Regions from separate parts of the Homo sapiens genome. Here regions 1 and 2 are each linked to region 3. Evidence: promoter capture Hi-C in 16 types of primary human blood cells and fetal thymus (Javierre and others, 2016). All regions are on one chromosome and are shown on one strand. Each heading gives the region's core, a stretch centred on a gene start or on the middle of the fragment in contact. The rest is flanking DNA. Distances are from core to core; before and after follow the strand shown.

Evidence for each region. Contacts are between HindIII fragments. The CHiCAGO score rates a contact against its expected background, and 5 or more counts as called.
Region 1: the fragment with the promoter of RPP40 here is called in contact with the fragment with the promoter of SMIM13 in region 3 in 3 of 17 cell types (naive CD8 T cells, fetal thymus and non-activated CD4 T cells); the score reaches 6.4 in naive CD8 T cells.
Region 2: a contact is called between the fragment with the promoter of FAM8A1 here and the fragment with the promoter of SMIM13 in region 3, in 1 of 17 cell types (non-activated CD4 T cells). The highest score is 6.2, in non-activated CD4 T cells.

Annotation. Positions count from the first base shown.
Region 1 is chr6:5,002,696-5,007,100 of GRCh38, reverse strand. RPP40 (ribonuclease P/MRP subunit p40) reads left to right here and starts at 3,064. Exons shown (of 8, transcript NM_006638.4): 1 at 3,064-3,221. The coding sequence starts at 3,099. LYRM4-AS1 (LYRM4 antisense RNA 1) reads right to left here and starts at 3,285. Exons shown (of 4, transcript NR_126015.1): 1 at 3,142-3,285. RefSeq lists silencers at 2,954-3,083, 3,214-3,463. The HindIII fragment of the contact is 5,117 bases long and covers 996-4,405 here.
Region 2 is chr6:17,598,916-17,603,342 of GRCh38, reverse strand. FAM8A1 (family with sequence similarity 8 member A1) reads right to left here and starts at 3,041. Exons shown (of 5, transcript NM_016255.3): 1 at 2,222-3,041; 2 at 633-753. The coding sequence starts at 2,933. LOC102724591 (a long non-coding RNA gene) reads left to right here and starts at 4,367. Exons shown (of 5, transcript XR_007059485.1): 1 at 4,367-4,427. RefSeq lists enhancers at 635-1,135, 1,136-1,636 and a silencer at 2,703-3,182. The HindIII fragment of the contact is 5,181 bases long and covers 1,747-4,427 here.
Region 3 is chr6:11,092,311-11,096,958 of GRCh38, reverse strand. SMIM13 (small integral membrane protein 13) reads right to left here and starts at 3,125. Exons shown (of 2, transcript NM_001135575.2): 1 at 2,570-3,125. The coding sequence starts at 2,645. RefSeq lists silencers at 499-578, 2,656-2,965 and enhancers at 2,436-2,555, 2,436-2,977, 3,226-3,435, 2,978-3,518. The HindIII fragment of the contact is 2,504 bases long and covers 1,259-3,762 here.

The sequences.
Region 1 (4,405 bases), core at 1,815-4,314, 6.1 Mb after region 3:
TTACAGGCATGAGCCACAGCACCCGGCCAATTCTGTTTCTGTTCTTTCTAACTTTATTGCATTATGGCCCGGAAATGGGATGTGTAAAATTTTTGTCCTTTTATATTTACTAAGTCTATATTTTTTTGTTTTCAGAATATGATCAAAGATATTTCTATTTCTTTGCAAGTCTATTAGCTCAGATTTTTCAAAATTATGTTACTATTTTGGGTATACATATAGATATGTTTTGTTTCATGTGCTTTTTTTTTTTTTTAACCATTTCTGGCTTTTCCATCTTGCACTTTTCCTTCCATACCCTGTGCTCTAGATTCTATGATCTAATATCTGTTTGTCAGTTAAGACTGCTTTCAGCTCTAGAGACCAGAAAATCTGACAGACAGAGTGTGAATAAGCAAGGGAAGGAGATGAGGCTGAAGAGGCAGGCTCAGGCCAATGTGTAAGCTTTTATTCCATCACAGTGAGAAGCCAGTGGTAGGGTCTAAATGGGGCTGTGGGGGTATATTATGTTTTTCATGTTTTTAAGAGATCACTCTGGATGCTGAGTGGAGAATGGACTGTGGGAGGGCAAGAGAGGCAGCAAGGAGAAGGTTTGGAGGCAGTCTTGGGCAGCAGGCCAGTAAGTGACGAAGGTGGCTGAAACTGGCTGTAGAAACGCAGAGAGCAAGAAGAGGCTGCAATCAGGATGCGTGCTGCAGGCAGGGCCACAAGACTTACTGTGGGATTGCATGGCGGGTGAGAAGGGAAGAAGTCAGGGGTGAGTCCTTGTACTAGAGTCATCTGGATACTCCGCTCAGGGAAGAGGCGCCACATCTAGGGGTTATCAGCAGCCAGAGAGGAGGACTTAAAGCTGCAAGACTCTGTGGGGTCTCTCTTGAGAAGAGGGCAGTTTATATCTCTCAATACATTTTTCAGCTGATATTTACATAGATAGAATTTATTTTGCATCTTCAAAATATGCAACATTTTAAACTAAATGGTTTGCTGGAAAAGCTTCACGGTGCTTCCAAATACAATTGGTAGACCATCAGGATCACACCAGTCACTTTGTGGAGTTTTGGAATGTCGACAAAGGAGAGGTACATCCGTGATGTTTCAGTCTTGGGCCACTGCTACCACACACAAAGCAACTGTCTGGTGACAATTACATTAAATATGAGGTGACCAAGAAGCAATGCTTTAAGCCTTTTACATCTTAACATGTTATTAGTAGCTGTTATTTATAAAACATCTAGCTGCCATATTGTGATCTAGGAAATTAGTAGGGTTTTTTTTAATTAACTTGCCACGCCTTATAATTCTGCTGTTTAAAATAATGGGAAACAGGTTCTCATTAGGTTTTTCCTTGGAAAGAAAATGTGACATTTCAGTCATAGATTACATTTTGACTTTTTTTTTTTTTTTGAGACAGAGTCTCACTCTGTCGCCCAGCCTAGAAGTGCAGTGGCGAGATCTTGACTCACTGCAACCTCTGCCTCCCAGGTTCGAGTGATTCTTCTGCCTCAGCCTCTTGAGTAGCTGGGATTACAGGCATGCGCCACCACACCCTGTTAATTTTTGTATTTTTAGTAGAAAGCGTTTCACCATGTTGGCCAGGGTGGTCTTGAACTCCTGACCTCAGGCGATCTGCTCGCCTCGGCCTCCCAAATTGCTGGGACTACAGGCGTGAGCCACAGCACTCAGCCAGATTACCGATGTTTTTAGTGGCAGATGACTTTCCGGCCTTGTCTTAGTTTTAATTTTTTTTTTTGAGATGGGGTCTTACTATATTGTCCAGGGTGGTCGTGAACTTCTGAGTTCAAGTGATCCTCCCACCTCAGCCTCCCAAAGTGCTGGGACTACAGGCGTGAGCCACTGTGCTCGGCCAGATTACTGATGTTTATAATGGCAGATGACTTTCCAGCCTTGTCTTAGTTTTATTTTTATTTTTGGAGATGGGGTCTCACTATATTGCCCAGGCTGGTCTTGAACTCCTAAGCTCAAGTGATCCTCCCACCTCAGCCTCCCAAAGTGCTGGGATTACAGGCATGACCCACTGTGACTGGCTTAGTTTTAAATTCTTAATTATTTACCTTGTAAACTACTTAATTCCATTTCTTCCACATCTCATAGAAAAACTGATGTTCCAGGAAGATGTATCACCAATATTCTGCTGTTTTGTATCCTGCCAGTGCAGAATTGGGGCTGTGCCTCTCTAGTTTGAGAAGCATGTAGTAACATACTTGATTTTGCCCTGATCAGTAACGTACCGCATGCTGGGAGCCGCAGTCTCTTAACCGCTCCAAGCCCGTGACAGAAAAACGAAATGGAAAAATGACTTAGGAGAATTATCACTATTAACCCCCAGAAACAACACATTATTAAAAGCGGTTCTGAAGGGCTATTTAAAAGGGAACTCAATAGTAGTTTCAAAGGAGTCCTATTGTAAGGCAAAAATTGTGCTTTACCTTCCCGCACAACCTTCCCTAATGTTTTGGGAAGGACTGATACAAACTTTTAGTCCTGTTGGCCTGTGTTAATAATGGCCAAGAGGTCCCCAATGGGTAACAGAGTCCTGTGAACCAAACAGTGTGAGAAGTCAGAAAGCAGCTGGGTGTGGCCCCCAAAGCAGCTTAGGGGGTTACTTAACTGTGCGGCTACATTTCTTGACCATATACTAAAGGAACTGGGCCTTTCCATGCGATGTTTTCCTTTTATAACGGTGGCAGGAAGCGGTCCCTCTGAGGGGCCTGACCGAGGTATGCGCCGGCGCCAGGCTGGGGTCCAAGGGGCGCTCCGAGGCGGGGCCCACAGAGAGGGTTTAGGGCAATTCCAAGGGATGGCGGGGACGGAGGAAAAGTGGCGTTGAAAAGGCAAGAGCCAGGTTCCCAGCCACTGGGACAGTGAATTTACAGCTTCAGACATCCACCAAAGAGCGGCTGCGTGGGCTCCTAAGAAGTCTAAGAACTGCTCAGAAATCCAGCGCCGCCATCCCCACTCCACCGCCGCCAGGGGCGCACAGCAGCGGGTATGCGGCCGGAGGGAAGGGGCGGGGCGGGAGGAAGGGGCGGGGCGTGCCCCGCCAGCGGAGGCCGGGAGGACCAGGAACCCAGGAGAGCATGGCCACGCTGCGCCGGCTTCGGGAGGCGCCGCGGCACTTACTGGTTTGCGAGAAATCCAACTTCGGCAACCACAAGTCGCGCCACCGGCATCTTGTGCAGACGCACTACTATAACTACAGGGTGAGTCCGGCTGTCCTCGGCTTTTCGGGCCGTGCTCAGTCCCCGCGTGCGAGAGAGGTTTGGGGAGAGTGCTAGGCTTCGCGGGGCGGGGCCGCCGGCGGTACGCGGAGGGGCGGGGCCCTCGCCCGGCTTGCTGGGAGTTGTAGTCTCTTAACTGCTCTAAGCCAGTGGCTTGCAGGGCTACAGGACTACAACTCCCAGGATGCGCCGGGCGTGGGGGCGGTACCCAGTCTGGAGGGAGCTGTTGTCAGGGGCGTTCTGGCTGCTCACTCGTGTCAACCCGCCGAACTGGGAGTGAGTCCAGGGAGGGATTCGAGGTTCAGGGCCGGGACCAGGGAGTTAGGCTGTGGGGCAGCCACGTGCACCTCGCTTTTTCCCCAAATCAGGGCGGGTCTCGCGCCTCCTCCCCACCACTGCCTCCTCCCCAGCTTGAATCCCTCTCCCACCTGCGTACCTGTGGATCTCACCAGAGCATCCTGCCTAGGCTCGGCCCAGGAAGCGACTGATTTTCCTTTTTTTTTTTTTTTTTTTTTTAGACGGAGTTTCGCTCTGTCGCCCAGGCTGGAGTGCAGTGGCGCGATCTCGGCTCACTGCAGGCTCCGCCTCCCGGGTTCACGCCATTCTCCTGCCTCAGCCTCCCGTGTAGCTGGGTCTACAGGCGCGCGCCACCACGCCCGGCTAATTTTTGTATTTTTAGTAGAGACGAGGTTTCACCGTGTTAGCCAGGATGGTCTCGATCTCCTGACCTCGTGATCCGCCCGTCTCGGCCTCCCAAAGTGCTGGGATTACAGGCGTGAGCCACCGCGCCCGGCCGAAGCGACTGATTTTCTAAATTGGTTGTTGGAACTAATTTGATATCTGAGAGACTTCAAGAAACTAACCTTATCATGGGGGATTAAACATTTTACACTTTAAATGGATCAGCTTAATAACTCAGGTTTGACTGAGCAGTGTTTCAGAGATGTTAAGTGGTGACCTGATCAGTCAGAACAGGCTGGTGTTTGAGCCTTGGGACAGTGATGACTTTTACAATGTGGCAACATTTGAAGCCTGCCCTGTTTTTAACACCTATTTTGGATGTCAAGCTCATCACAGCAGTCAGGGATGTATACTTTAACTCGCCTGTTGCATTTTTCTGTCTCGAAAATGAAAACATACAGGAGCACCATTGCTTGCACATAGAT
Region 2 (4,427 bases), core at 1,792-4,291, 6.5 Mb before region 3:
CTCTATAAAATGGTGGTATTAATCTCTACACCTCATCTTGGTATTAAGATTAAATAAGAATCCACATAAAGAAGTGAGCAAGCTCAATACATGGCATATAGAAAGTACTCAGGAAGTGGTAACTGCTATTATGATTATTGTTAATCTGGAAGGATTACTCAAATAAACGTCTCACTTTGAAGTTCACTTGGGACTTGCCCCACAGTATGTGCAATCCCATTTGGAAATGCCATCTAGTTGATTATTAATTCACCTACCAAAAGCTCTTTATACCTTTGTCTTTAGAGACTCCACAAGATAGCAAGAGGGAACAGGATAGTGAGAGGTAAATTAGTTCCTGGCCTAAAAGAATAGGTGAATAAAATCAAAGCAGGTTTGGAGGCTCTTTTTACCTATTTTTGATAGGTGAGATTCCCACACATCTTATAGAATTCAGTAAGCTATTTTTTTTCCTTTCTAGTTATTTCTTAAAATCAACAAGAAAACAATAAATCTAACAAAGCTCTTATAAAGAAATCATGACACTGACAAGCCCATTATCCATATAGTCACGTGTAGACAAACAGAATGTAATAAAACAAGATCATTAAACAGTAGAAATTAAAACCCTTCTGCAAATGTCCTCAACTTACTTTATCCCACTGAGGTGCATAATGCTTAAGACAATGGTTGCTTTTATAAAGAAGAGAATAAAGAAATCCACCATCTCTGCCATAAATCTGTGGGCCAAGGATGGAATAACATATTCTCTGCCTGTAAATTAAAAAAAAAAAAAAGTTAGGAAAAACGAATCATTTCACATAAGCCTTGGAACACAAGCCATGTAATGAATTGCTAAAGAAAGTCAAGGTACAACTTAATAAAAAATATTTATAACCGTGCAGCAACTATTGATATTGATTCCACCAAGAATCCATGTTACTAAAATAGAGTAACAGAGAATCCACTATTTACTGAGCTTAAAGTTTGCTTTCATCACCTTAACGTTTAAAAATTGATTTCACACGGCCAGGTGCAGTGACTCACGTCTGTAATCCCAGCACTTTAGGAGGCCGAGGCGGGCAGATTGCTTGAGGCCAGGAGTTCGAGACCAGTCTGGCCCTGGCCAACATGGCGAAACCCCGTCTCAACAAAAAATACAAAAATTAGCCGGGCGTGGTGGCGCATGCCTTTAGTCCCAGCTACTAGGGAAGCTGAGGTGGCAGGACGGCTTGAACCTGGGAGGCGGAGGCTGCAGGGAGCCAAGATCGCCACTGCACTATCCAGGCTGGGCGATAGAAGCAGACCTTGTCCCCACCCTCCCCACTTTCCCCCTAGAAAACTGATTTCACAGATAAATTTGATTAGGGTACCCACTACATTTCACTAGGAATTCTAATGAGGAGAATCCAGGTGATCACATCTAAGTCACACAAAATTAAACATTTTTTAGTACAAATCAAGGTTAAATATTGGCAATTAGTATAAAGTAAATCCCTGTAATCCCCCCCCACCCGTTTTTTAGTTTGTTTTGCTTTCTTTAAAATAAACCCAGTGAGTATCAATCTGTCATCCTAAATTCTGACTGGGATCAGAGGCATCAACTAGTTCTTGTCCCATCTATCTGTGGCTAACTAAAATAAACTAAAAGTCTAATAGTTTAAATAGTAAACTAAGAAGTGTAACTAATTCAAAATATTCTAGTTCACACACAGAAGCAAAAACAATTACACAATATACAAGATATTGATCAAATGAAGTGAAGCTTTGACCCAATCAAAACTTCCTAACTCCACTTGTATCCATGTCGATCTCCTTTTATATCCGTTCAGTTCCACTGTCCTAAGTAGCCAATGTCTGAATAATTTTCAGCATTACCAGTCGAGCCCCTCCAAAAGTGGGTTTGCCATTTGCGAATTTAGCTTTGGCCCTCACTGCAGAGCGTGAAAACCAAAGGAAGAGGATGGTTTGAAGAGCAATTTCTTTTCACGAATAAACAACTAGTCCCATGAGTAAGGGAGTCAATTTGGAGTGCCAGGTCTAAAGGAAGAAGAAACTGTATTGCCTCCTTGTACATTTTGGGAATTTAGGGCCTGGACAAACGATAGCTAGTGAACTGAACGGGCAGGATAGTCAATCAGAGTAGAAGCAGCAGTTACAGGTCTAAAAAGCGTGCCAGCTCTACCCCACAGGCCCCCGAAAACCCTTCTACTCCGCCCAGCCTCCACCTCGCGCTTCTCACCTGCCTGTCGCCCGGTCTCGCTCGGGCTTCGCGAAGGGGCTGCGGATCCTACCCTCGTCACTGGAGTGGCCCGGACCGACGCCTGCACGTGAGGAGCCCGGGGTCCCAGGCCCGCGACTGGAGCAGGGGTGCTGATGCCGGCAGCTGTCCGCGGGTCAGGCCCCGCGGCCCCGGGGCTCAGGAAGTAGAAGGGGTTGTAATAGCCCAGCTGCGGGGGCGGCGGCGCCGCGGCCTGGGGGACTGCAGCGCCGCCCGAAGGGAAGCTCTGCGGGGAGGGCTGGGGGCTGCAGTAGGCTGGGAAGGCGGCCAGGCCGCTGTGCCAGGTGAGGTAGCCGCAGTAGGACTGCCACAGCCACTCGTGCACTTGCCGGGAGTACTCGCGGGCGCTCAGCCGAGCTGGTCTCTCTCGTGGCGCCGCGGCTTCGGGCGCCTCGCAGCCCGCCTGCTCCTGCAGCTCTGCACCGGAGCCGGAGGCCGCCTCCCCGCGCTTCCTGAGCTCGCGCGGCGGCTCCAATTTGTCGGCTGCGGCGGCAGCCGCGAGGCCCGGGGCTGTGGGCCGGCCCGGGGCCTGGGGTTCGGCCTGGGGGTCGTCGCGGGGGCATGGGACGGCGGTGGTAGGAGGGCCTCTCAGGGAAGGGACGGGCTCGTGGTCCCCTCCGCCATCGTCCTGCCCGGGAGGGTGGCCTCGGGCTTCCTCGGGCCCCTCGGCCATCGTCGCCTCAGCAGCACCCTCTGGGATACCTGTCACTGCTCCGTTTCCCTCCCCCAATGGCCCCTCCCCAACAGCCCCGTCACCACCGCAGCAACCGCAGGCGTCAACAATCCCCCGCCGGAAGCGGAAGCCCCGCCCCTCAGGAGCAACGCCCGCCGCCAGGCGGAGCTGGGAAGGGAGGGCGGGGAGGTGCGTCTGCAGTCCCGGGTTCGGGCCCTAGTAGTCGGTGGCTGGTCGGTGACTGGGACCAGACCGTCGCCTCCTCCCTTTTACAGCTTTAAGTCTGTGACCCGAGGCCTCTCTGTATATTCCCGTGGGGTTGGGCCTAGTTGTCCTGGGAGAAACTAGATGGATGAGGAGTATTTCCGAGACAGGTCCCAGGGCCAGCGCAGCCTTTTCTGTTGCAGAACCGCGACTGTTGTTTTGGGATCCAGGCCGGAGGGTTTGTTGCTTGTGTTCATTCCAGTTAACCATTAGTACTCGAGAAGGTGGTACAGAACGCATCTATCCCCTTAGAAGAAAAGAAATTAAAAGCCAAACTAAACTGGGATATATATTAATATAGGAAACTACCACTGAGACATAGGAAAGTGTATTAAAATATAACTAGTGAGGTGCTATGTATAATTCAGAGGAAGGGGAAATTATGCATGGGCCAGACTACTAACAAAAGGCTCCAAAGCCTGGGATACGCTGAGGGCCTTTCCATAACAGAAAATGAAAAGGAACCTAAATTTGAGACTAGATTTGAGGAAAGGCACAGTTGCGCTGGAGTAGAAAGCGTCTGTCTACCGCAGTGGAAAGTAAGTTTTCGTAAATGCAGACTAGCTCCAGGGTGAGGACAGAATCTAGCTTTTAAATCAGTATAATCTCTCTTCTTTTACATTTGAAAATCTCTGCAGCGATATGTTATTGTATCCCCAGCACCATACAAAGGACATACAAGGGCCAAATACTGTGGGAATATTTATTAATGATATTAATGATGATGCTGTCCGGGCCAAAGGAAAACTTCCGCTTCACCTTCTGAAGTTTCGCTGAAAGTCACTGACAGGAGGCAGTTAATAGGAGAAAAGACATAGACATTGATTTGACCATCGTTTTATGTGACACGGGAGCCTTCAGAATGAAGACCCAAAGATAACAAGGGAAATCGTGTATTTGTATGCTTAGGTTCAACAAAGCATGGACAGCCGTATAAAAAAATGACTGGACAAGGCCGGGCGCGGTGGCTCACGCCTGTAATCTCAGCACTTTGGGAGGCTGAGGCGGGCGGATCACAAGGTCAGGAGATCGAGACCATCCTGGCTAACACAGTGAAACCCCGTCTCTACTAAAAATACTAAAAATTAGCCAGGCGTGGTGGCGGGCGCCTGTAGTCCCAGCTACTCAGGAGGCTGAGGCAGGAGAATGGCGTGAACCCGGGAGGCGGAGCTTGCAGTGAGCCGAGATTGCGTCACCGCACTCCAGCCTGGGCGACAGAGCGAGACTCCG
Region 3 (4,648 bases), core at 1,876-4,375:
AGCACTTTGGGAAGCCGAGGCGGGTGGATCACCTGAGGTTGGGAGTTCGAGACCAACCTGGCCAACATGGAGAAACCCCATCTCTATTAAAAACAGAAAATCAGCTAGGCGCATGCCTGTGATCCCAGCTACTCAGGAGGCTGAGGCAGAAGAATTGCTTGAACCCGGGTGGCAGAGGTTGCGGTGAGCCGAGATCACGCCATTGCACTCCAGCCTGGGCAACGAGAGTGAAACTCCAACTCAAAAAAAGAAAAAAGAAAAAAAAAAGCAAAACAAAGAAAAGAAATGAGTTGTTTAAGCCACCCACCAGTCTCTGGTATTTTGTCATGGCAGCCCTGGCAAACTAATATCGCACTCCAATTTCTCTCTTAAGTCTGGTCTGATCCTTGCCTCCTCTCCCCAAGTTCCCGCCCCATCCTAGTCAAAAGATGAGGCTACTCCATCATCAGTTCTCCCAACAACAACAAAAAAAGTATTGATCACTTCATCATAGAGCTTTTAGTTCTTGACTATTCCAAAAACTAAGGTGTCCTAGCACAGGGCTCTCCAGCCCTAGCACACAGATCCCTCCTCCCTGCAGGAGGCAAGTATTACCATCTGAGCTCCGCCTCCTGTCTGATCAGCGACATACCAGATTCTCATAGGAGCACAAACCCTATTGTGAAATGCACATAGGAGGGATCTAGGTTGCTCGCTCCTTATGAGAATCTAACTAATGCCTGATGATCTGAGCTGGAATAATTTTATCCCAAAACCATCCCTGCTCCGTCTGTGGAAAAATTGTTCTCCACAAAACAAGTCCCTGGTACCAAAAAGGTTGGGGACTGCTGTCCTAGCACACCTCATCTCTCTTATTCCTTAATGTTTCTGAAACTAAAAGCACTTTTAGAAAAATGTGTATAATTAAACCATCAAACAGCTGTTTAGAGATGAGAGAGCAATTTGGATTTCTGAAGCCATAAAGGTAAATTTGGCAAATATCCTAGTGAAGGTATGGTAGGGTCTACGTGTCACATTCATTCCCATGTCCAGGTAGCTCGCATTTTCAAACTAGAAAGGGTAATAAATGCTTTCCCTCCTTCCCCACATCCAAACATATCACAAGGATTTTGTTTTCCTTACTTCAAGAACCTTAAACATCTACAATTAGTTCAATATTCTAATATTCTTCTGCTTGTTGATATCACAAGCAGAAAATTGAGAAAGGTTATTCAATTGCTTTATCTCATCAGAAAAGAAAGGCTGTAAATTAGAAGCTTTAACCTGGTGTTACAGAAAAGCACAACAAATTTTAAACATACATACAAGGCCGGATGCAGTGACTCATGCCTGTAATCCCAGCACTTTGGGAGGCCAAGGCGGGTAGATCACATGAGGTCAGGAGTTCAAGACCAGCCTGACCAACACGGTTAAACCCCATCTCTACTAAAAATACAAAAATTAGCTGGGCATGGTGGCGGGCACCTGTAATCCCGGCTACAGCTACTCGAGAGTCTGAGGCAGGAGAATCACTTAAACCCAGGAGGCAGAGGTTGCAGTGGGCCAAGATCAGGCCACTGCATTGCACTCCTGCCTGGGCAACAAGAGCGAGACTCCATCTCAAAAAATAAAATAAACATATAAGTTTATAAATACATACACATGCATATGCACAAGTGCACACATATATTCCACAGCGTCACTAAGTATTAATTTGTACATTTATCGTGTAATGAACAAGCCCTATAGTATCTGTATGAATTCTGACCCATTATTACATCAACCTGAACCCATACTTCAGTCTTATAAATATGTGTAAACTCACTGACACGTGTTCTACGTACTTTTTAGATTTTCACAATTGCTTAGCCACTTTGCTAAGAGACCTGTGGTTATCAGCTACTATACATGTACAAAGAAATCAAAAAGATCTAAAATTGGGCTACCATTATTTGAAGAAAAAAGTTGAACGTCCTCTCATTCCAAGAAGGAAAATACGCACAGCATTCGAAATAGCACCATTATTATAGAACTGAGAGTTAGGTTACCCGACCCTGCAAGTTTAATATAGCCGGTGTTTCTAAGCTCTGCCTGGTCTCCACATCTCTGCTTGGAATTGAGTTTAAGGCTGAACTCTAAGTAAACAATTTCACGCGTGCTGAAAACCCAACTCTACCCCACTCGCTGATGAAACGAAGGTGACACCTCTCATTATTAAGGTCAGAATCTGTGCAAATGAAAAAGGACCAATCAATCACTTCACCTTCGAATGCAGGCCAAGGTTACAATCTGGGCAGCCTGTGGTGAGAATGAAAGAGCAGACGCTGCCGGTGAAGCAAGGCTGAGTTTCACTCAGAGGCAGGAAGCCCTGGAGCCTGTCCTTTCCCTCCCCAGGATGCCCGAGGGCCGGCCATGAGTAAAGGGCCCACCTCTGCGCTCAGCCCTAGAGGCTAAGGGACAACAGTTGATTTTAAGACAATTGTCCGTCCACGCCCTTTTGTTTTTTTCAAAAAAACAAACAACAAAAAAAACCCCAGCAGATCAGCGACCCGGCGTGTGGAACTGCCTCGCGGCTACCGCCCCCACTCACCGCACACCATCAGCAGCAGGACGATCAGCAGCGTGGCCACGAACACAAGCAGAGTCAGCCCGACGCTGTGCCACATCTTGGGGGCAGAAGGGCAGTCGGCTCGGGGCGGCTGGCGCGGACGGCGGTGAGCGCGGGCGGCGGCGCGTCCTGCGCTTCAGCGGCGGGCGCCAGGCGCGGCTGGGCGCCGGGGCGGCATGGGCGGCTGGCGCCCCCTCGGCAGCGCCCCCAGGGGGTGGGGCGGCGCAAAGGCGGGCACTGTGGGACCGCCCGCCCGCCCGATCCTTTTCCCGCCGGGGTGGCCAGAGCGCGGGAGGCAGGCGGGCCTCAGGGCGCCTCTAGTCCCTCATCGCCCCGGAGAGCCGAGGCCGCGGCACCCAGAGACCCCAGCGGTCGGATGCGCTTCCATGGCGGACGCCGCGCGCCTGTAGGGAGGACAGAGGGTAAGCACGGGTACACACGGCGGCCACAAGGCCCTCGTCGCTGTCCACCCGTGTCTCTGAGACCCCAGGGATGCCAGATGTCAGCGTCGCCCGGCCGCGGCTGTAGCGGCTTCTCCGCCCCAGGCCCCCTACCGCTGGGGCAGCTCATCACCAAGCTCGCCTCCTCCGCGGCGCGGGGTCGGCTGGGAGATGGAGTGCAGAGCCTGGTGGAGTCGGGACGGCGTTGTCTCGCAGGGACTACAACTCCCAGAATGCACCGCCACTCGGGCTTCGCTGCTTTCATTCTCGGGCGGCTCTGCCTTTGGTCTTGCTCAAGTCGCCTCAGTCGGACGACCGTGGGCTGGCCTTCTCCAAAGCCGCGGATCTGGCTGCCCGTCCTGCTGAGGCGCCAGTGAGATTTCAACCATTACTCCGTATACAAAGTCGTTTTGTTTCTAGCCGTAATCGATGAAGTACGGCGAGAGAGGAAAGAGGAGGCGGCTGCCTGAAAAACTGGTTGCTCGTGCACCTAGCCCTGTTGCCGGGGGCGAAGGTTGGCTATTTGGGACTTGGAGGAAGAACTCAGGTCCCTGCCGCAGACGCGGGTCAGGACACGAAATCTCATTTTCCCCCTGCAACAGATGTTATGTTCTATCTTTTCGTAAGTAAAGCATTTCAGAAATGGCCCGCGGGTGACTTAAGGACAGCTGCACTGCCCTCAAATCACCTGCCTGAGTTGTAAGTTAGACCCAGCTGCCTCCTTGAGACCAAGCTTGGAGATTTTGCCGCACTGGCTTACACCTCTACGAAACAAGACACTGTAGTAATCTCAACTACTGTATCTCCACCCAAAATTGAAACTCCCCACTTCCGCCAGATTACATTCATTTGTTAAAGAGGTGCCCCCAGAAGAATAGAGGGTAAATGTGTCCCTCTTTTAGAAGGAATCAGAGCCTTCGAGTTTTCCTGTGATTCTTTTGCTCCCTGAGATACCTTTTTACTCTTCTAAAAATTACAGTTTCCTGTCTTCTGTCTCCAAAAACAAACACAAAAGTTCTAAGCAGCAATCCCTTGATTTAATAAATGTATCCTGCCATACCCAGCTGCCCTACTATGTGAACTGTATTCCCTAAGAAGCAACATTAGGAACAAATACCATGTATAAAAATACATTAAAGGATAATTACTTGCTTTGCAACAGATTTAATATAGATTCCTGTGAAGAGAATGAACCCAGTGCAATTAAGATATATTTACAAAAAATCAGTGTGTGCTTTTTTCATGGGTGGTTCAATTATGTTGCATAATTAAAACACATTTTATTAAAAGCCAGTTGAAAATACGCGTCAGGGCTAGGCGAGGTGGCTCACGCCTGTAATCCCAGCACTTTGGGAGGCTAAGGCGAGCAGATCACCTGAAGTCAGGAGTTCGAGACCAGCCTGGCCAACATGGTGAAACCCTGTCTCTACTAAAAATACAAAAATTAGCCGGGGGTAGTGGTGGGCGCCTGTAATTCCAGCTACTCAGGAGGCTGAGGCAGGAGAATCGCTTGAACCCAGGAGGCCAAGGTTGCAGTGTGCCGAGATCACACCACTGCACTCCAGCTTGGGCAACAGAGAGACTCTTATCAAAAAAAAAAAAAAAAAGAAAAGAAAAGAAA